Linked DNA regions of Homo sapiens: all the other regions are linked to region 1. Evidence: promoter capture Hi-C in 16 types of primary human blood cells and fetal thymus (Javierre and others, 2016). All regions are on one chromosome and are shown on one strand. The core of a region is centred on a gene start or on the middle of the fragment in contact, and the rest is flanking DNA. Distances in the headings are between cores, read along the strand shown. Region 1 overlaps LOC124904557 (a long non-coding RNA gene). Region 2 holds the start of SPATA21 (spermatogenesis associated 21). Region 3 holds the start of PADI3 (peptidyl arginine deiminase 3). Region 4 holds the start of ARHGEF10L (Rho guanine nucleotide exchange factor 10 like). Region 5 holds the start of PADI2 (peptidyl arginine deiminase 2). Region 6 holds the start of ATP13A2 (ATPase cation transporting 13A2).

Region 1 (3,863 bases), core at 1,239-3,738:
ACAAGGGGGAAATTCAATAGCTACCATTTATTGAGTTTCTGCTAGGTGCCAGGAACTCTGCAATGTATGTCATTCTTCTAAACCCTCCAGACAATGGTATTAAACCATATTAATATTCTGAAAACCAAAACAAACACCCACTACACTTGACACATTTTTTTTTTGTACCATAATGAAAGCCTATGTGTTTGGGCCCACAGTTTCAGCCAGGATTTTGACCTGGGGCCTCCTAACTGATCCTGAGGCTTTAAGACCACACAGCATGGGTCTGCGAATTGCAAATGGGAGGCTTACTTTTCCCATTCTTATCCAAGCCTCCAGAAGTGGCTCTGGAGCTAGATCCAGCCTCCTTTCTTACGAAGCCTTGGATACATCCCACTTAGCTTGACAAACTTTTACCGGAATTCTCTGATCCCATTTCACAGCTGTTGCAAAGGTAGGGTCTTGGTTGTGTCTTCCTTCAAGCTGCTTATGAACCAGGGGTGGAGACTAGGAAGTAAGGAACCCTGGAATCAGAGAAGTCAGGAGCAAGCATCTTGTTGGCTTGAGGTTCTCCAGGCACCATAAATCAAGTAGTGCGCATACTAAGAAAACAAGCTGGACAACAAGAGGAGAGCAGGAGGGTCCTTAGGATTGGCTGCTTGTACCATGGCCCCCAGTGGCTCAGTAGAGACAAGGGGAATCCCAGGTAAGTAGACTCCTTCGCTCCCCAGAGAGGAATCTATTGTGTCAATTGCTGGGAAACACGCTCAGTTGAACTGACCCTCTATAGCCGTATGTGCGTGTGGAATCCATTGTTAGGGAAACCATGGTGAGAAGGGAAGTGAGATGCTCTGGATGGGTGCTGAGCTGAGTGCTGATGGAACAGACCTTCCAGAAAAGGTTGCATATTATCCAAGGAAATATCATTGCCTGGAGAGTCCTAGGCTGACTTGCTCTCTTGGGAGCTGATGTTTAGGGAATGGGAGAAGCAGCTGGTTTAAAGCATCAAACAATGTGAAATGAACTTCAGAATCTGCCAAATCCTAAACATTTCTTGCTAAGCACCATTTTTTCTGTATTGTGAACCCATCTGTGCTTCAAAAGCAATTTTGTTTAAATGGCTTCTTCCCCTTACTCCTAATCCTTGGGAAGCTGTAATACACAGGTGGTAAAGGGGACTCCCCAAGAGATGCTCACTAGGACTGCTGTGAGCCAGATACTGGGCTGACACTGCATAGCACCGAGGGTGTGGGAGACCAGAAGTCAGGAGCCTGCATTCTCAGGGGAGGGACTGGATCCCTGCAAGGAAACAAAGTGTGGTGTGTGTGGCTTCATGATCCACTGGCCTAGGTCTAATAGCGGATCTTTTTGCAAATTTATTTTTTTCTTTTCTTTTCTTTTCTTTCTTTTCTTTTCTTTTTTCTTTTCTTTTCTTTTCTTTTCTTTTCTTTTCTTTTCTTTCTTCCTTCCTTCCTTCCTTCTTTCCTTCCTTCCCTTCTTTTTTCTTTCTTTCTTTCCTTGCTTTTTTTTTTTTTTTGATGGAGTTTTGGTCTTGTCACCCAGGCTGGAGTGCAGTGGTGTGATCTTGGCTCACTGCAACCTCTGCCTCCCGGGTTCAAGCGATTCTCCTGTCTCAGTCTCCTGAGTAGTGGGGACTACAGGCAGGCAACACCAAGCCTGGCTAATTTTGTATATTTGGTAGAGACAGGGTTTCACCATGTTGGCCAGGCTGGTCTCAAACTCCTGACTTCAGGTGATCCTGACCTTGGCTTCCCAAAGTGCTAGGATTCCAGGCGTGAGCCACCGCACCTGGCTTGCAAATTTCTATTTCTAATTGAGCCAGCATTTCTTCCCAAAGGTTCACTGGAAAATCACTGACATGAAGAAGATTGATTAATAGGAAAAAAGGCATACACATTTATTTAATGTGTATACACAGGAGCCTTCAGAATGAAGACCCAAAGATAGAGGGGAAATTGTCCACTTTTACACTTAGGTTCAAGACAGTATGGATAGTCACATAGAAATATGACTGGACAAAAAGGGTCTGATGGAATGCTAGACTAGACTGAGTAGAAAGCGCAGCAAGGCCTGTCTGCCTAGATTCTTCCAGGCATCCATGCCGCATTCCTTCCTTCTGGGTATGGGACAGGATCCTTTCTGGAGTGGGGGTCTTATGACCTACAGTCAAATAAGATAGGTTAGATGAGGTCTTTATGGCCAGTTTTTACACAGAAAGGTGGAAGGAAAGCTAGAGTTGTATTTTAGGTTTTATGGCTGGCTTTGGGGAAAAGGGGTTCTGGTTTTTATATCCGCCTTGGGGAAGAGGGATTCTGGTTTCTATGGCTGGCCTCGGGGAGAATGAGGGGCAAGAGATAGGAGGGCAGGAGAAGATCAGAGAAAAACTTTTGCTTCTGAGGCTAAGCCTTCCTTTTGGGGTATTGTTTTCTGAGTCCCAACACTTGTTATTTGGAACAACTCATTAGAATGTAGGGACTGGGGCTATGTCATGTATTAACATCTCCCAGGGAGCTGTCAGCCTCCCTCAGCAAATGCTTCCTGAATGCATGAATGAACCAATGAGTGTTGGCCATGCAAAGTCAGTAGTTTTCTGCCAACCCCATGAGTTCCACCAGTCGTCTCCAGAGATTCCTTGCAAAGAACTTGGTACTGGGGCATGTACTTATAATGTCTCCTTCTTTTTCCTTCTATTCTATCATCCTGTGTCTTGTCCAGCCTCCAGGAGTTCAGTGAGAAAGGAAACACACACACACACACTACAAAAACCAGGAGAAAAAAACCATTAAAAAATCCCACTGTAGGAAGATTCTGCTGCCTCTAGACTTTAGGAAAGCCGCTGACCTAATTCATTTGCTATGGTGGCTTTTTCATCCTCAGGACTGGTGCTGCCTGTGTAGTTCAGCCTGTGAAGGCTCCCTTTCAAGTAGGCCAGCTGCATGGTATTCTGGACTTACAATGTGCAGGGCAGATGTAGTGTCCCCTTGAAATACACTTAACGGTGGGCAACAAAATCCAAAAGCAAACCCCCACAAATATCTAACTTAAAAAAAAAGAACTTTCTAGATCTCAGTCCTCATCTGGATACTTCATTAGGATCCTGAGACATCTGGGGACCAGCGATGGAAAGAAGGAAAGAGACTTCCATATGTTGAGAGCCTATTATATGCCTGCATTGTGCTAAGCCCTTTCCCATATGTTATCCAATGTAATCCCCCACAAAAGCCCTGCCAGAGTGGAATTATTCTTCTCATTTTACAAATAAGAAAACAGTAGCTCGGAGATGCTAAGTTACTCGCCCAAGGTCACATAGACGGTAAGTGGTAGATGCTGATTTGAATCCAGACAGTGTCATTATCAAGGGGTGGTTTGGGAGGCTTTCGTTGTAACCATCATCTGTAGCAGCCCCCTTCTCCACAATTATCCCAAATAAACACACAATCTAAGTCGGAAGAGCCTACAGGAGGCAAAAATGTAGCTTCAATATGTGCTTCCCTGTCATCTCCCTTTCATTGAGATTATTGCTGCCCCAAATCCTGTCTACACAGACATTCTGGAGTCCGTACTAAATCAAGATTTGTCTGGCTGCAAAGACCATGTTCTGTCCAACACAACCAGGATGCCTCTTCTCTTAGATTCCTACCAAGAAGACCTTGCTTCTTGAAACCCTTACCTAGAAGAGCCAATGAATCAGTGTAGGATTTCCCTAATGGTGGCTGGCACCATAGGTTCCAAAATGTCACCACCAGCTCTAAGTCATCAGCCCTTTAAACGCCTCCACACATCCCGGGGTATACTGACGCGAGGAGTCACAGTGGGTAAGCATCACTAGGTTGCAGAAGCACTGGGCTAATGGTGTGGAT
Region 2 (3,539 bases), core at 904-3,403, about 220 Mb after region 1:
AGTCTCACTCTGCCGCCCAGGCTGGAGTGCAGTGGTGCAATCTCGGCTCACTGCAACCTCCACCTCCCGGGTTCAAGCGATTCTCCTGCCTCAGCCTCCCGAGTAGCTGGGATTACAGGCACCCACCACCAAGCCTGGCTAGTTTTTGTATTTTTTTGGTAGAGACGGGGGTTTCATCTGGTTGGCCAAGCTGATCTTGAACTCCTGACCTCAAGTGATCCGCCCACTTCGGCCTCCCAAGTGCTGGGATTACAGGCGTGAGCCACCACGACTGGCCATTTCTACTCATTTTTTATAAGCTTTTTATTATAGGATTGATCTAACCACTTACATTTTTATTGTAAAATATACATAACATAAAATTTACCATTTTAAGTGTACAATGCTGTGAAATTAAGTACATTCACAATATTGTGCAACTATATCATGCTTTCCAGAACTTTTCATCATCCCAAACAGAAACTCCACACCCATTAGCAATAACTTCCCATTTCCTTCTGCTCCATCCCTTAGTAACCTCTGTTTTACTTTCTGTCTCTATGAATTTGCCTTTTCTAGATACCTCTTATAAGTGGAATCATACAATATTGGGCTTTTGTGTTTCTTATTTCACTTAGCATCAAGTTTTCAAGGTTCTTTCATGTAGCATGGATCAGAATTTCATTCCTTTTAATGGAGGGATAATATTCCATTGCATGTATATACCATATTTTGTTTATCCATTCATCTGTCAACAATTGGGATGTTATCACCTTTTGGTATTGGGAATCGGGCTACTATGAGCATTGGTGTTCAAACACTTGTTCTAGTCCTGTTTTCCATTTTCTTGAGTGTATACATAGGAGTGAAACTGCTGAGTTATACAATAATGCTATGTTTAGTGGTTTTGTTTTGTTTTGTTTTGTTTGAAACAGCATCTCACTCTGTTGCCCAGGCTGGAAAGCACTGGCATGATCATGGCTCACTGCAGCCTCAACCTCCCAGGCTCAAGTGATCCTCCCAACTCAGCCTCCCAAGTAGCTGGGACTACAGGTGTGAACCACCATGTCCGGCCTTGCTCACCTTTTTGAGGAGCCTCCAAACTGTCTTCCACAGCAGCAGCACCATTTACGTTCACAAGGGTTTCAATTTCTTCACATTTTTGCAAATATTGGTTATTTTTCTTTTCTTTTCTTTTCTTTTTCTTTTCTTTTTTTTTTTTTTTTTAGACAGGGTCTCTCTCTTTCTTTCTCTCTCTGTCACCCCACACTGGAGTGCAATGGTGCGATCATCACTCACTGCAGCCTCAAATTCCCGGGCTCAAGGGATCCTCCTGCCTCAACCTTTTGAGTAGCTGGGCCTACAGGCACACACCACCCTACCCTGCTATTTTTCTTACTTTTTGTAGAGACGGGGGTCTTGCTATGTTGCCCAGGCTGGTCTTGAATTCCTGTCTTCAAGAGATCCTCCTGCCTCAGCCTTCCAAAGTGCTAGGATTATAGGCATGAGCCACCATACCTGGCCTTATTTTCCAATTTTTTTTTTTTTGAGACTAAGTCTCACTCTACCACCCAGGCTGGAAGACAGTGGCATGATCTCAGCTCACTGCAACTTCTGCCTCCCAGGTTCAAGTGATTCTCGTGCCTCAGCCTCCTAAGTAGCTGGGATTACAGGCATGCGCCACCATGCCTGGCTAATTTTTGTATTTTTAGTAGAGACGGGGTTTCACCATGTTGGCCAGGCTGGTCTATAACTCGACCTCAAGTGATCCACCCACCTCGGCCTCCCAAAGTGCTGGGATTACAGGTGTGAGCCACCGCACCCAGCCATTCAGAGCACTTTCAGTTCTGTTCAGTCTAACAAAGACAGGCATCGAGCACATACCCTATGCCAGGTGCTGAGTACTGGGGTCACTGGGATGTGGCCAATCCAGCTCCTACCATCCTGGAGCTCGCAGACTGGAGGAGACAGAGAGAAAAGCAGTCATTGGCAAAGCAGAATGAAAGGTACTGTAATGAAGCAAATTCACAGGGGCCTGTGGGAGCAAAGAGAAGAAACCCCACACAGTCTGGGGAGAGTCAGGGAAGGCTTTCTGGGAGAGAGTACCCTGGCCCAATAATCACTGTGAGGTTGGCAAGGCAACGATTGTTATCTTCATTGTGTAATGGGGGCCACTGAACCAGTGACAAGCTGGGGGAAATGACACTGTCCAGTAGTTGGAGGTCACACAGCCCCTTGCCTTATTCTCAAACCCTAACCACATGGCTGGATATTCCTGAAATGCATTCCTAAACCTCTGCTGCTGAGAATAATTGGACCTGCCATCTATTCCCAGTTTAACTGCCCTGTATACCAAACAAATCCAATTCAAGCCAACAGGCAAAGTATAGGCTCAGACAGAGCCCATCCTATGTGCAAGGCGGTGAGCAGGGGTGGAAAATCTCACTGTGACTCATCCAGCTGATTTCTGGTAGGTGCAGGGCCAAGGTGGGGTGTAAGGTGAACAAGCTTTCCCTGACGGCCTCCAGACATATATATGATATGCCACTTATCTTTATCTGCTGTATTTTCCTGCCATCATAGATATTTCCAAGAGAAATTCTCCCATTTTTCAGATGAGGAAACCACTTATAAAAGGGGCACTCAATACCCAAAGAATTTTGAAAAAGAACAAAGTTGGAGGACTCACACTTCCTGATTTCAAAACTTTTTATTTATTTATTTATTTATTTGTTTTTCCATAGGTTATTGGGGTACAGGTGGTATTTGGCTACATGACTAAGGTTTTTGTTTTTTGGTGTTTTTTTTTTGTTTACATTAGTAATTTTTTTTGAGACGGAGTCTTGCTCTGTTGCCCAGGCTGGCGTGTAGTGGTGCAGTCTCTGCTCACTGCAACCTCCATCTCCCAGGTTCAAGCGATTCTCCTGCCTCAGCCTCCCAAGTACCTAGGATTACAGGCAGGCACCACCATGCCCAGCTAATTTTTGTATTTTTAGTAGAAACAGGATTTCACCATGTTAGCCAGGGTGATCTCAAACTCCTGACCTCGAGTGATCTGCCCCCCTTGGCATCCCAAAGTTCTGGGATTACAGGCGTGAGCCACCTTGCCCTGCATGAGTAGGTTCTTTAGTGGTGATTTGTAAGATTTTGGTCCACCCATCACCTGAGCAGTATACACTGCACCCTATCTGTATTTTTTTTTTTTTTTTTTGAGACAGAGTCTCACCCTGTCATCTAGGCTGGAGTGCAATGGTGCGATCTCGGCTCACTGCAACCCTCCACCTGCCAGGTTCAAGCAATTCTCCTGCCTCAGCCTCCTGACTAGCTGGGATTACAGGCATGTGCCACCATGCCCGGCTAATTCTGTACTTTTAGTAGAGACGGGGTTTCTCCATGTTGGTCAGGCTGGTCTCAAACTCCCAACCTCAGGTGATCTGCCCGCCTCGGCCTCCCAAAGTGCTGGGATTACAGGCACGCACCACCACACTCAGCTAATTTTTTGTATCTTTAGTAGAGATGGGGTTTCACCTTGCTGGCCAGGCTGGTCTCAAACTCCTGAC
Region 3 (3,905 bases), core at 893-3,392, about 220 Mb after region 1:
TCTGTGGCACCCTTGTAAGAAGGTTGTCCAGCCTCTGCTGGCTTCTCAGAGAGGAGGAGCTGCTTGTTCTCCCCTGTATGTGTCCCCAGAGCCTGTGCTCATCCTTCAAGGCTCTGAATGGTACACACACTAGACCCAAAAGAAATACTTGAAGAATATGTGAATGAACGAACTAGGAGCTCTCCACTCCCACCCCTGGGGGGTTTGGCCACCAGGGCCCAAGAATCCCTCATTTGAAGGTATCAGAGCTTCCATCCCCCACCCTGTGGCTGTCCCACCGATGGCCTTCTCTGCAAACCTCCAGTGTGGCTCAGGTGACTCCAGGAAGCTATGGCCTTTATCTCTTATTGCCCCAATCCATCCTCTATCCTCTAAGGAAGCTCTGCGGGGGAGGAGCCAGGCCCAGGCTTCCTGGGACAGGTCAAACCGGAGACACATCTGCCCAACGGGCACGAGGCAGCAGGGGCAGGTGAGTCACCCCATGGCACGCAGCCCAGTCACCCCATGGCAGGCAGGCAGTGGTGCCAAGTGGCAGATACCCCTCCTTCCTCATTACCTCCTTGGCACAGCCTCCGTGGCTGCCCCTTCCTTCAAGAACCACTGAATCCCCTTCCTCCTCCTACTGCCCACCCACCAATACCAGGATTTATTTCCTGGGCTGGCTCTGCTCCCGACTTGGTTCCCTCCCATGACCAGCTCCTCACCCCCTCTCATCCAATGCCCTGGATCAACCCCATCGCTGCTCCCGACTAAGTTCGCCCTGATTTTTCGAGTCTTAGTCTTGGAGACTCGTTCTCAATGGGTGGGCTATTTTCTTCCCACCCCAGGGCACATTTGGCAATGTCTGGGGACATTTTTGGTTGTCACAACTCGGGAGTGTGCTGCTGGTATCTAGCAAAGAGAGGCCCAGAATGCTGCTCTCCATCCTACAGTGCACAGGGTGGCCCCCATGACAAAGAGGTATCGTGACAGCAGTGCTGAGGTTGAGAAACCTGGCCTGAGGAGAGGGCTGGGAGACTTGAGAGGTGAGAGCTGTCCCACAGTTCTGCACCCTCCCCTCCCAGTATCCTGATTACCTCCAAGCCAGGACCCTGGATTCTCCCCAAAAGCCTAAGAAGCCAGCTCCCTGGTGGTCCCCAGAGCCCAGCTCTTAAAACCCTACCCTAACCCTCTTTTCTTCCTAAGAGAGAGAAGATAAGGCCTTACCTCCCTCTACCATGGGCCTCAAAGGCATGACCTGGCACACAGTAGGAGCATAATGCATGGGCATTGAGTGTCTAGAGGAAACCAGGTTGGAAATCTTTATTTTCCAAGTATCAGAGCAGCTAAAACCATAAGACTCCTGAGTAAGACCACAAGCGGGTTTAAACCCTGGCTTTGCCACTTAGTAACTGTGTGACTTGAGCAAATGGCTTGCCCTCTCTGCCTCGGTTTTCTCATTTGTCTGATGAGATGATGCTAATAATAAGCCTAGCTCACAGGGTTGTTGTAAGGGTTAAATTCAAGATTAAAGTTCAAAACTTAACTCAAGAGACTTGTGAAGCTCTTAGAATAGTGCCTGGCACATGGTAAGTGCTATGTATTAACTTATTTTTTAAAAATGATTCATGCTCTGTTTCTAGGCTCATAGGCTCAGGATGGGGCTGGGGATATCTGCCTGTTCCTATTCTTGTGTGCCCCAGACAGATCCTCAGCCCAACCTGCAGCATCCCTTGGACATAGAAAAGTGCCATCTCTTCGCGGCACCAGCCCCCTCCAAGCCCCCGGTCTGGAGCTCAGTCACTGAAGCCTCTTCTACCTGGCTCAGCCTCCCAAACTTCAAATTCCCTGGCTAAGGTCTTCAGGAAACTCAGTAGAGCAAGAGGAGGACCCAAGCTTCCCTGATTGGCTGCTGTTCCGAGGCCAAGGCTGGGGAGTGGGCCCTGAAGAAGCCCTGCCCAGCCTGCAGGGAGGAAGGTCCAAGGGCATCAGCACCAAGGGCCTGCAAACCACTAGGCCTCTGACTCTTACCCATAAATGTCCACGAGGGTCTCCACGCCAGCCACACACACCGCGCTGGTGGGATGCTCCAGGGACACACGCACGATTCTCTGCAGCGACATGCTGGTGTTGGACTTAGCTGTGGCCGCCAACCCCAACACTGCCCCTGAGGCCCCTTAGGATGAGGTTTAAAAGCCCCTGGCCCCACCCCTCCAGCCCAGGGTGCCAATTCATTGGCTCCAGTCATGAAAGCCCAGCCCCTTCCCAGAGCTGAGAGCTCAGGATTGGCTGGAAGGGACCCAGTATTTGTATACGAACCTGTTGTCCCGACCCCGGCACCCAGGAAGTTAATTTCTTGGGAAGCAAGTCCCCACAGGTACCTGGCTAGGCACCAGGAACTGTTGGGGGCAGGTGCTGTTGAGGGGGTGCAGAGATATATGATATTGATCTCGGACGCTTCTTGCTTCCTCACCTCCATTTTCTGCATTTTCAGAGACTATAATGGGGAGCTTTCTTACTCTGCTGGGGAAGCTGGTGAAAATGCGGATTCCCAGGTCTGTTGTCCACTCTGATCCAGCAGGTTAGGGGTGCAGCCTGGCCTCTGGATTTTTTTTTTTTTTTTTGAGACGGAGTTTCACTCTTGTTGCCCAGGCTGGAATGCAATGGTGCGATCTCGGCTCACCGCAACCTTCGCCTCCCAGGTTCAAGCAATTCTCCTGCCTCAGCCTCCCGAGTAGCTGGGATTATAGGCGTGTGCCACCACTTCCGGCTAATTTTGTATTTTTAGTAGAGACGGGGTTTTTCCATGTTGGTCAGGCTGGTCTTGAACTCCAGACCTCAGGTGATCCACCTACCTCGGCCTCCCAAAGTGCTGGGATTACAGGCATGAGCCACAGCACCCGGCCCTCTGGATTTTTTAATAAGCACCCCCAAAGCATTTTGGTGCCCTTTGAGAAACACCAACTTTTTTTTTTTAATGGATTTTAGAGCCAGACCTGGGTTTCAGCCCTGCCTCAGCTGCTTCCTGGATGGGCGACCTTGGGCAAGTTTCTTTTTTTTTTTTTTTTTGAGACAGAGTTTCGCTCTGTCACCCAGGCTAGAGTGCAGTGGCGTGATCTCGGCTCACTGCAAGCTCCACTTCCCGGGTTCACGCCATTCTCCTGCCTCAGCCTCCCGAGTAGCTGGGACTACAGGCGCCTGCCACGGCTCCCGGCTAATTTTTTGTATTTTTAATAGAGGCGGGGTTTCACCGTGTTAGTCAGGATGGTCTCGATCTCCTGACCTCTTGATCCACCCGACTTGGCCTCCCAAAGTACTGGGATTACAGGCGTGAGCCACCATGCCCGGCCGGGCAACTTTCTTAATTGTTCGTGCCTCACTTTTCTCGTCTGAAAAATGGTTGCTGTGAGGCCTCAGGGGCCAGCGTTGGTAGAGCTCTGGTATGGAGCTTGGCGTTATTGTATTACTATTGTTGCTGTTATTAGGTCCCAAAAACCTCTGAAAGCGGTAAATGATGAGGGTGAGAACTCTCTCCAGCCAGGGGGAGCTTGGCATGTCAGAGTAGGAAAGCTCAGTCGTCAGGTGGGAAACCGAAGTCAGAGGGGCATTCAGGCTCCTGGAAGAGCAGGAGCAAGGGCTCTGGGGAGAGAAGTCTTGGGTTCAGAGGCAGGCTCCACCGTGCACCCACTATAGGGCCTTGGGTGTCAGTGTCCCCCCTCTTGGAGACTCGGTTTCCTCATCTGTAGAAAATGCAGCTAATCACTGGCCCTGGCGGAGATAATAGTGAAGACGCACCCTGCCTGGCGGAGGCTCAGGAGGTGCTGAATAGAGGTTTCCTCCCTTCTCCCTGGCAGTGCTGACAGCCTGAGACAGGATGGGGACCAGGACCCGCTCCCCAGCATCTCCAGCTGGGACATCTGCACCAG
Region 4 (3,348 bases), core at 587-3,086, about 220 Mb after region 1:
CTGGTACCTGGGCCCCAGAGCAGTACACCAGCTTTCGCCCCTCCCCAGACTACTCCAGAGTTAAAACTTGAAACAGAATTTGGGAACCATTAGTTATTGGACATTCATTTATTCAGCAACTATGTGTAGAGCACCCACTATGCACCAGGCACTGTTCTGAGCTGTGATCAAGGACAGACATGGCCCCTGTTCCACTGGAAGACTGAAAAAAGCCCCCCGCCCCCACAACTGGGGCAGGAACCCTCAGAGCACTGTGGCTACCCTGGCTCACTGGAGAGGAAGTAGCTCCCGAGTGAGAAATGAAAGAGGTGAAGGATGGGACCCACTTCCTGGATAGAGAGAACAGCCCACAGAGGCTCTTTGGTGGAAGGGGAAGGGACAGGGGGCCTCAGGAAGGCAAGCGCCTGGGGACAGAGCGAGCATCAGATTCGGGCACCCCAGGAAGCCTTCCTTACAGGAGGGTTCTGAGCTTCAGCCTGAGGGCCCGATGAAGGGGAAGGGCAGTCCCCAGCCCACAGTCACAGGGAGCTTGGAGATTTCCGGAGGCTGACCTGCTTTCTAGTCTGTGTGTCCAGGGCCTGAACACCGTGGGGGGCACAGTGCTGGGCGGATGCTGGGAAGAGCTATGCATTCTAATGAGCCCGCACAACCTGCCCTCTCTCCCCAGAACCCGAGGAGGAGCAGATGGGGCTCCCGGCAGGTGGGGCGTGGCTTCCCAGTAGCATCCTTAAGGGAGGCCAAGGACTCTGGGGCAGAAACTGAGCTCCAAAGCCAGTGGGAAAGTGCAGCCCACCAGCCACCACCTCTCTACTTGGCACTGATGCAACGCAGGGCCTCCTGGCTTTCAGGGCCAAAGGAAGATTCGAGACCCCCGCCCCAGGGCCCCGCTTTGGCAGAGGGAGGAAGAATTGTCCCCATGCCCCCTACAGTCAGGCCTGCTCTCCCTCTCGGAGGCCATCCCAGCGACTCCAGGGGGGCTGGTCTTCATCTAGGGCCCTCCCTGACATATATCCCTGTTCCAGGGAGGATCCGGGACTGGCGGCTCCGCAGCCACGGCCTCCGGCTGACCCGGCATCCTCTCCTCCCACAGTCTCCTCCTGCAGGAGGCCGTCCCGTTCCGCCTCTGGGCGGGGGTCCAGGGTGGGAGAGGCTGACTCACCACAGAGGCGACAGGGGCACTCCCTGACTTCACCCGATCCCAGGGACCCCCAAGGTCAGCGCAGGAAGAAGTGGACCACAGGGGAAAGTGAGGCACAGGGTGGGGGTGGGGGTTCCCAAACTGTCCTGACTCCAGCCGGCTGGAGGCCACACACACACACAAGCTGAAGCACAAAGGCCACTCGCCCTAGTAACACCAGAACTCCAGTGACACAAGGAGAGACCCACACAGAGGGGAGACGCGGGCTCGGGGCTCTCACACCCAGACACAGGGACACAGCGGCGGACACGGCCCCCGCCCGCCCACGGCGACACGCCCAGGACACCCGGAGGACCCTGGCGCCTGGAGCGCCTCCCGCGCACTCGCAGACTCCGGCACACGCGAGGATCCCGCGGAGGCAGGGCCCCCGCGCTCACTCACCCACCTCGGCTGCCCGGGCCCGCGCCTTTGTCGTCCGCGCCGCTCACAAAGGCGCCTGGCGGCCGGCGCCGCGCCTCCAGCTCCGCAGGCCGCCGCGGGCGCCCATGGCCGGGACGGCGCCCCCACCGCCGCAGCCGCCGCCACCCGAGCCAATGGCCGCGCCGCCCGCCCGCCCGCGAGGTCCGGGCCCGCCGGGACTGCGCCCGCGCCCGCCGCGCTCCGAGGCCTGGTCCCGCCGCCGCCGCCGTGCGCGACGCGGCGCCGCCCCCGCCCGCCCGGTCCCGGGGCGCCGCGGCTGAGGTCACCGCTTAACCCCTGGTGGCCGGGGCAGCGGCCGCCGCGCCCCCTCCCTGCTCCCAGCGCGCCGCGAGGGAGACGTGGCCTCCCCCGACCCGCTGCGAGCCCCCAGCGGTCCCGGCAGCCCACCGGCCCCCCACAGTACAGGGGGGAAACTGAGGCCCGCGGGGATGGGGCCCGGCCCCGGCCACACGGCGACCTCCTCGCTCCTTCACCTACCCCGGGGTCCCCACTTCCCGCCTCCCGGTTCTCCTTCCCCGGTTCTCCGCGGGGAGACCCCGCAGGCGCGCAGGGTGCTGGCTTCTCCTCCCCCACTTCAACATTTTGCCCTGAGGTTCCCCCAAAAGGGTGAGAATCCTGGACCGGCCCCAGGGGAAACCCTAGACTTATGACCTGCCCCTCAACCAGTCTTGGCGGCCCCGTATTGCCCCCCACCCCCGCCATGGCAACATGGGGAACCTTGCAGCCATGCAGCCAAACCTCCAAGAACAACCCTGGCGGGTTCAGGCATTGACGGCTTTGAGACCGGCAACACCCCAGTGATGTAGCCCCATTTTCCCTAGGAGAAAACTGAGGCTCAGAACTGAGAGTAACTTGGCAAAGCTCACTGAGCAGCAAAGTGCTGAGACTGAGATCCTAGCATTCCCCTGCCTTTGCAGCTCCAAAGCTGCCAAACACTAGGTACTCCCTCCTGAAATTCCAAAGAGGGCCTCTGGATATGATGCAATTAATTACAGTTATCAGGTCATTAATTAAGATTATCCGCGTTGTTGTTAAACACTCCCCCGCTACCCCTCTATTTGCAAGGAAATTCACACGCGGGCTTATCAGCAATTACTCCTGGGTTGATAATGATAAGTTCTGCAGCCTCCAAAGGGTACAGGTGCACGTAGGTTGAAATCATTTTCAGCTTGTGTTCCTTACAGCCCACAGCCAGCAAAAACTTTTTTTTTTTTTTTTTTTTAACTACTCCCTATTTGTCAGGCACCAGCCTCAGGGGCTACCAGTGAGACAAAGAACCAGACAGACCCCAGCCCCGCCCCCTCGGAGCTCATAGGCTTAGGAGAAGACGCAAATAAACAAACGGCTACAGTGCAGTGAGACAAGCCACACAGGCCACGCACTGAAATCATCTTATTCACCGACTTGTTGGTTTGTTTATTGTCCCTCTCGACACAAGAACATAAGCACCACAGAGTTGTCCTGAGCCCCAGGCTAGGGCAACACTGGCTCATAGTTTAAGTAGGCAGGAGATATTCTTTGAGCATTTTTGCTCTGTTCCAGACATCGTTCTAGGCACGCAGGAGACACCAGTGAACACAACAGGCACGGCCCCTGCCCTGCTGTGAATAAATGATGGCAGGACAGCAGACAGGAGAGGTTTGGGGATGCTAGCAAAGCAGGAAGAAGACTTCAGATGTCCATTGAGTGACCTCAGGCTCATGGCATTAAGCTTTGGACCAGAAATGGAC
Region 5 (3,440 bases), core at 631-3,130, about 220 Mb after region 1:
CAAATGAAAGTTAGAGCCCCAGGAAGGTGAGAACCCTGGTGGGTGCCCGTTATCTGTCACACAGTAAGGGCTCCAAAGTCACTCGTGGCAGAGGGGTGCCCAGACACGAGCTCACCTCTGGGGGCGCCTCGAAGTCTCTCCAAGCTACACAAGTTTTGTCCCAGTTTGGCAGGTGGCCACCCGAGAGATTCCTCCTGATTGGAGGATGTGCTCAGCCGGGTGCCTGGAGTTCATCAGAAGTTACTGGCCTCGGCCGGGCGCTGTGGCTCACGCCTGTAATCCTAGCACTTTGGGAGGCCGAGGCAGGTAGATCACCTGAGATCAGGAGTTCAAAACCAGCCTGGCCAACATGGAGAAACCCCGTCTCTACTAAAAATACAAAATTAGCTGGGTGTGGTGGTGCCTGCCTGTAATCCCAGCTACTTGGGAGGCTGAGGCAGGAGAATCAATTAAACCTGGGAGGCGGAGGTTGCAATGAGCTGAGATGGCGCCATTGTACTCCAGCCTGGGTAACAAGAGGAAAACTCTGTCTCAAAAAAAAAAAAAAAAAACAGTTACTGGCCTCTCCCTGGGTCTGTGAGCTGTGCCTTTGGGGGACAAATGACCTCCTGGCTAAAACTCGGGCCTTCCCTCTTCCCCACTCACATTCCTCCCAAATCCCTGCCACTCAGAAGCAGCTGGGCTCTTCACCACCTCCTAATTTGGGCCGCCTCAGGGAGAAGGTTGGAGTCCAAGGGCTGGGTATATCAGCACTGGGCACTTGTGGGCCTCACCCCTCTTGTCTGGGGGCACCCGTTCCTGGAGCTCCATCTTCCATCAGCTCTAACTCCTTCCCAAACACACATCCCCTCCGCCCCACTCCTTCCCTCCCACGGCCTCTGCCCACCCCCCCTCAGTTTCTGTCCTCACCTACCAAAGACCACTTCCTCACACAGGGCTGATGTATGTGTCTGAACAGCACTCCCACTGGGTCCCAGGGGAAGGGCTGGGACATGGGAGGGGCTGGCCGAGGCCCACACTGATTGTCATCCTACATCTCAGCCTCTGTGAGACACACGATGACCTCTGGGTGGCACCCCCCTTCCCTTGGTGGCCCAGGCCAGAACCGGGGCCCTAATCCTTACCCCTCTCCTCTCCCTCCACCCACACATCCTATCAGTCACCAGGTGCCACCAAAATCCCAGTCCCTAAGCAGTGGCCGGGTCAGTCCCCACCTCTCCAGCTCTGGCCACAGCCAGGGGCTTCCTTGCCCCTCCCCAGCCCAGAATGACCCATTTCACGAGCACACCCGACCACGGCTCGCGGAGACAACCACTCCAGGCTCCCATCTCCCACCCTCCAATGCCTTGGCTTGGCGTCCTGGTCTCCCTCAGCTGCCGGGTTCCCCATCCCCACCGCTTCCCGTTTTCTCTATGGTGAGGTTCATCTGACTGTTGGGGGATGGGGGTACCGGGCTGCACCCGGCTTTGCACAGGCAGCTCCCTCTCCTCGCCTTTAATTTGCAAACGCCTCCTTTAAGAAGGTTCCAGGATCGTCTTCTCTGGGAAGGCTTCCTGGCCCCCAGGCTGGGTTAGGGCACCCTCTTTGTGTTCCCACATTTGCATTTTCAGCCCCACTGGGCTGGGGCGTCCGGAGGGGAGCTAGGGCCCTCCAACACCTGGGCGCCCACCGAAGGTTTGTCGAATGAAAGAATGACAATCCAACCATGGAAAGCACAAAACTGGTCCCTGATGACTTCGCCACGACCTCAGCGGGGCGGGACGAGTTAGGGGCGGGACCACGCTTGACGGACAGGCCCGCAGCCCACTGCGAGAGGACTGGGGCGGGCCGCCCCGCCCACCGGCCGCTGGATAAGGCTGCGCGCGGGGCCGTGGGGCGCAGGCTGCTGGAGAAGGCGCACCTGCTGCAGGTGCTCCCGGCCGCCCCGGACCAGCGAGCGCGGGCACTGCGGCGGGGAGGATGCTGCGCGAGCGGACCGTGCGGCTGCAGTACGGGAGCCGCGTGGAGGCGGTGTACGTGCTGGGCACCTACCTCTGGACCGATGTCTACAGGTGAGCCGGCCCACCGTGATGCCCGGGCCGAGATCTCGAGCCCAGAAATCCTGAGACGCGCTCAGACTCGGGGACGTGGACAGCCTTTGTCCAGCCCGAGTTGTCCCTCATCCCGAGCCCCCGAGCCCAGAAATCCTAAGAATCTCATCCAGAAACCTGACAACCCCCGAACCTTGTGTCCACCTTCCAGAAACCCTGAGACTCTCCCAGACCCCCTAACACAGCCTCAGCCCCAGCTCCCTCACAGACCCTCCCTTTCACCCGTAACCCTCCGTCTGGCCCTCTCCAGTTCTCCTCCCGGGGGACCTCACACCCCTTCAGCTTCCCTGCCGTCCTCTCCCCTTTCACTTCCCCTCCGCACCTCACTTCCCCTCGGACCCACCTCAACCCAGCCCCTCTCCTGCTTCCCACTCCCAGTTCAGCGGAGCTTCCGCGGAGACTTGCCGGGGACTGGGGCAGGACCCGAAGGGAGCTGCCCTGAGGCTGAATCCGGCCCTGGAGGTTACTCAGGCTCCGATTTCGCCCTGTGGGGGCTGCTGGTGGTTGCTTGTCCCCAGGCACTGGCCCTGAGCTCCGTGTCCCCAGATACCTTCCCCTGACTTCATTCTGAGACCACAGAGGGACAATATTCTACCCAGCTGACGACGGGGACTTGGGGTGTATAGCGGGGTACTTTGTTGGAAAAGGATCCTGATTCAGAGTTCTGCTCCCTCCCCTTCTCTCTGTCCAAGAACTTGGTAGAGTGCGGGATGTCCGAGACAGCTGAAGGTAGGGTAGGGCCCTACCACTCCCCCCGCAATCCCAGAAAGCAGCCAAGTCCAATGATCTGTCTCCCTGAGTAATGGGACGGGGCCTTGGAAAGGTGTGGCTGGTGTGAATGAAAGGGTGGGGTTATGCTGGGGTTTGATCTGCCCCCTCTATTCCAAGCATTTAAAACCTCCCCATTGCTAGGGTTGGAGGGGTCAGTGCTGGGGGCAGGGAGCATGCAGGACTCTGAGGTGGGACCCTGTGCTGACACCGGATGAGTCCCCTATCCTCTCTGCCTCAAGCTGAACTCACACGGAGGCACCATCGTGGTTTATGGCTCTCAAATCATCCTGACACCTGGAGCACCCTGCCTCTCCCAGGCCCCCACCAACCCATCATGTGTCTCCCCACACAGCCCTGGCAGCCCTCCCACCTGCCCAACCAGTCTCCTGCCACCGCTGCAGAGGCACTGGCCACGCTGATACCAACAAGCCCCAGGACTAGGGACCCACTCCATGCCTCTGTCCCTGGCCTCAACCTCTGCCTTCCCCTGGGCCTGGGCTTCAGTTGTCCCCCATGTAAACCTCAGAGGTGGACTGGGTGGTCTCTGAGAACAAGAACACAGCAGTGGAGGGTGGTCCA
Region 6 (3,759 bases), core at 239-2,738, about 220 Mb after region 1:
AGCCCTGGGGGAGGACATGGGAGTTCTGAAAAGTTAAGCAGCCTGCCTCCCCTGGAAGTGTCACCGGAAGATGAAAGAACTCTTGTCACCTGACCCAAGGAAGCCAGTCCCATGGCCCAGGTGGTCAACAGGAATGACCCGCAACTGGTTGGCTCGGGCAGCCTGCCCCAGCTGAGTAAATGGCTCCACTGGCACCCAGCTGCTCAGGCCAAAACCCTGGGGAGCATCTTGAATTCCACACATTCCTGCACCCCCACATCCTATCCACCAGCAAGTCCTGCCAACGTGTGTTCCTGTACCAAATGTTCACTGGGATCTTGCTATGAATCAGGTGCTGCTTTCCCTCCTGGGGTCTATCCCCTACCCACACCCTCACCACCATCACAGCTGTGTCTCCTTCCAGCCCCTTCCACAATAGGGATCGTTGGAGTTTTCCTTTCCTTGACTAGGGCTACTTCCCAGTAGACAGCAGTCTCCGCAGGGACAGGGGCATCTCTGTTTTGTTCACTCTCACGTTCCTGGCTCCCACAGTGGTGCTGGCACTCCATAAATTCATACTGGACAAATGACCAGTGATCCTGCCCACGTCTATCCTTGGCCCTAACGTGAACCTTCCCTTGTTTGCCCTAGGATCTCACAGATCCACTCTCCCCTTTGGAGCTCCTCTGTCCAGAGGTCCTGGAGACAGGGAACACTATGCCTGTGCCGGTCACTATGGGGTAGCAGGATAAATGCTGCACGCAGGTAAGACATCTCTGGTGCCTTTCAGGGGTCTTCATGAATCCCCCCAGTGCAGGTGTGTCTGCAGGTCACGCTGTGAGGCTTCTCTTTCTCTGGCATTTCAAGGCCTCCAGTGCATCATGGCAGACTCTCCCTGGGTCTCTGTGGGCCCACATCTGACCCTGTGAATCTCTGGGCAGGTGTGTCTTCCTTCTTTGCATTCATCAAGCAGCGCCAGGCACTGTCTCAAGTGCTTGATACGCATTTTCTTTTTTTTTTTTTTTTGAGACAGAGTTTCGCTCTTTTTGCCCATGCTGGAGTGCAATGGCATGATCCCGGCTCACAGCAACCTCCGCCTCCTGGGTTCAAGCGATTCTCCTGGCTTAGTCTCCGAGTAGCTGGGATTACAGGCATGCGCCACCACGCCCAGTTGACAAGCATTTTCTTGTGTGATCCTCGCAGCAGTTCTCTGTGAAGCAGGCATTGCTATCCTACAGGTTGGGAAAAGAGGGCCAGAGAGGATCAGTGACTTGCTCACGGTCGCGCGGCCTGGAAGACATGGAGAGCTGGACCAGCACGCACAGTCCCTAACCACTGGGACGTGCTGGCGGGGGCTACCTCCGTGAGGTGTGTGTCTCCGGTCGCCCCGCCCCCGGTGTGTGCGGAGGAGCAGGCGGGGACTACAAGTCCCGGCAGCCCCGGCGCGGGCGCTGCGAGGGCCGCAGAGGGCCGGGCGGGGCTTGCGGCGCGCACGGAGGGACTGCGGCAGTGTCGGAGCCGCGCCGAGCCTGGTGGCCCAGGTGCCCCGCCCGCGTCAGCCCTGCTCCAGCCCCGCGCTAGCCCAGCGCCCCTCGCCCCGGGCCGTCCGGACCGCGCCCCCGCCCAGGGCCTTGCGCACGCCGGGGCCCAGGCCGAGGGCCGCAGCGCCGGGGCCGGCGATGAGCGCGAGGAGCCGGCATGAGCGCAGGTGAGTGCGGAGTCCGGGTCGGCCCCGAGCCCGGCGCGGTCCCCGGCCCGCCAGTTGTCGTCACCCCTTGGAGGGAGAGGGGAGGCGACGCCCCCCACCGCGGGGTCGCGAGCCCAGGAAGCGGGACCTGGTTGGGGATCCTGGCCCGTCCCCTCCCTTTTGACGGGGACTCGGCCCCGGTTTCTTCCCAGAGACGCCGGGGCTGGGGATGGCGCCGCCGCTCGCAGCCGGTCCCTCCCCTCCCCTGCACCCCTCAGCCGCGGGATTGGAAGCCGGGCGCTTGTGCAAGAGGGTCCTGGGGCCGTGCGGGGACGGGGAGGCCACCCCACGCCCACTTAATCGGATCCCACCCCGAGTGACGGATGTCCAGGTGGGGGAGACGGCTGCATCCTCGGGCCTCTGGGCAACCCCTCTGGGCTGAATGAATGAATGAATGGCGTTGGGGGAGTCGGGACTCCATTTCCTGGGTAGATGTCCTGGGCCACAGCGCCACTCCTGACCTCCTGCCTCAGACCCCAGAGAAAACCCGTCACACCCAGGGCCAAGGGCCACACCCTCCATGCAACCCATCCCTGGCCAGATGTCCTACGCCCACTCCTCCAGGGTCTAATTTAAATCCCACCTGCCGGGAATGGGGCCAGTCCTCCTCCCCTATCCAGAAAGGTCTCATCTCAGTGTCTGTCACTCAGCCCCCAGCCCCACAGCCTAGAGTGCACCCCCCGGCGAGGGAGGGGAAGGAATGAGGAAAGACAGCCCCTAGAATCCAGATCCAAAGATGGGAAGATGGTTCACACACACTCCCGCCTCAGCCTGGCAGAAGACAGGAGCTCCCCGCCGCCGGGAACCACAGCCAGGGAGGAGGCAGCCGCCCTGGGCCGCTGCCAGGTCACCAGCAGGAAGCCAAGGCTTCCGCAGGAAATAAGAGGTCCCAAATGGCTCTAGCCCCTCTGATCCACAGTGCTGGTGACACTGCCCCGAGCTGTGACCTCAGACGAGGTTCAAGTCCAGTCTTGGCCCCTCATAGCTGTGTGACTTTGTGCTTGTCAATCTACTCCTCTGGGCCTCGTTTTAAATGGGAATCCTAATCTGTACTTTTCATGGAATGGCTGTGGGAAAGAATGTGCCCATTCAGACACACTCATTTCCAGCTTCTCCCCTTTCAAGCTCTATGACCCTGGACAAGGGATTCACATGCTGTTCCTCAGTTTCCCCAGGTGTACAATGGGGATAATAATAGTCACTACCCCAGAGGGTTGTGTGTGAAGCTTCATTGAGTTAGCACACTGAAGGGCTTCCGCAGGGCATGGTGAGCACTCCATGGGAGCTGCTGTTCATCAGAAGAGCAATGACAGGCCAGGCGTGGTGGCTCACGCCTGTAATCCCAGCACTTTGGGAGCCTGAGGCAGGCGGATTACTTGAGGTCAGGAGTTCAAGACCAGTCTGGCCAACATGGGGAAACCCCGTCTCTACTAAAAATACAAAAATTAGCTGAGTGTGGTGGCATGTGCCTGTAGTCTCAGCTACTTCAGGAACTGAGGCAGGAGAATTGCTTGAACCTGGGAGGTGGAGGGTGCAGTGAGCTGAGATCTCTCCACTGCACTCCAGCCTGGGAGACGGGCAGGGGGGAAGGGGGGAACGGGGGGGGAAGACTCCATCTCAAAAAAAAGAGCAATGCCATCATGAAGGTGCTCTCGCCCCCCCACACAGCCTGTGGGTGCCTGTTCTGGGCTGGTCTGAGCCCACAGAAGCCCTGGGGAGACTGGGCTGTGGCTGGGGATAAACAGATGTACTGCAGGAGAGAGTGCCCTGGGCTTGATCCCTGCAGGGAGGGGCTCTGGAGGTTTCCACAGCTGTGACTTCCTCCCTCAAGTTCCACTCCCCTTTTCCTCTTTGCCAAGGTTGACTGAGAGAGTGTCATTGTGAAGTGACAGTCATACGATTGCCATGAGGAAGAACTTCCCAGGGGGACCGCTGTTTACATACTGGGGACTCTGCCCTCTTTTTGAAGAACCTTTTCTTCATAAAGAGTCTTGAGGCCGGGTGTGGTGGCTCACACCTGTAATCCCAGCACT

The links. Contacts are between HindIII fragments. The CHiCAGO score rates a contact against its expected background, and 5 or more counts as called.
Region 2: the fragment with the promoter of SPATA21 here is called in contact with a fragment that was not itself captured in region 1 in 9 of 17 cell types (naive B cells, non-activated CD4 T cells, naive CD4 T cells and 6 more); the score reaches 13.0 in naive B cells.
Region 3: a contact is called between the fragment with the promoter of PADI3 here and a fragment that was not itself captured in region 1, in 4 of 17 cell types (fetal thymus, erythroblasts, M1 macrophages and 1 more). The highest score is 25.6, in fetal thymus.
Region 4: a contact is called between the fragment with the promoter of ARHGEF10L here and a fragment that was not itself captured in region 1, in 1 of 17 cell types (neutrophils). The highest score is 9.5, in neutrophils.
Region 5: a contact is called between the fragment with the promoter of PADI2 here and a fragment that was not itself captured in region 1, in 3 of 17 cell types (fetal thymus, total CD4 T cells and total CD8 T cells). The highest score is 23.0, in fetal thymus.
Region 6: the fragment with the promoter of ATP13A2 here is called in contact with a fragment that was not itself captured in region 1 in 5 of 17 cell types (M0 macrophages, erythroblasts, naive CD4 T cells and 2 more); the score reaches 13.7 in M0 macrophages.

The regions. Positions count from the first base shown.
Region 1 is chr1:234,781,662-234,785,524 of GRCh38, reverse strand. The region is part of intron 1 of LOC124904557 (a long non-coding RNA gene); the gene reads left to right. Among named protein-coding and RNA genes, the nearest start is that of LINC02961, 24 kb to the right of the region's middle. RefSeq lists an enhancer at 1-273. The HindIII fragment of the contact is 5,487 bases long and covers 1-3,863 here.
Region 2 is chr1:16,436,038-16,439,576 of GRCh38, reverse strand. SPATA21 (spermatogenesis associated 21) reads left to right here and starts at 2,153. Exons shown (of 13, transcript NM_198546.1): 1 at 2,153-2,449. RefSeq lists a silencer at 1,253-1,423. The HindIII fragment of the contact is 2,188 bases long and covers 302-2,489 here.
Region 3 is chr1:17,247,335-17,251,239 of GRCh38, reverse strand. It overlaps PADI3 (peptidyl arginine deiminase 3), which reads right to left and starts at 2,142. Exons shown (of 16, transcript NM_016233.2): 1 at 2,011-2,142. The coding sequence starts at 2,102. The HindIII fragment of the contact is 2,587 bases long and covers 1,878-3,905 here.
Region 4 is chr1:17,538,186-17,541,533 of GRCh38, reverse strand. It overlaps ARHGEF10L (Rho guanine nucleotide exchange factor 10 like), which reads right to left and starts at 1,836. Exons shown (of 29, transcript NM_018125.4): 1 at 1,584-1,836. The HindIII fragment of the contact is 7,990 bases long and covers 1-3,331 here.
Region 5 is chr1:17,117,891-17,121,330 of GRCh38, reverse strand. It overlaps PADI2 (peptidyl arginine deiminase 2), which reads left to right and starts at 1,880. Exons shown (of 16, transcript NM_007365.3): 1 at 1,880-2,051. The coding sequence starts at 1,960. RefSeq lists an enhancer at 755-1,289 and a silencer at 1,861-2,070. The HindIII fragment of the contact is 8,283 bases long and covers 1-3,440 here.
Region 6 is chr1:17,009,657-17,013,415 of GRCh38, reverse strand. ATP13A2 (ATPase cation transporting 13A2) reads left to right here and starts at 1,488. Exons shown (of 29, transcript NM_022089.4): 1 at 1,488-1,687. The coding sequence starts at 1,678. RefSeq lists a silencer at 1,324-1,853 and enhancers at 2,344-2,393, 3,157-3,236. The HindIII fragment of the contact is 3,526 bases long and covers 1-2,954 here.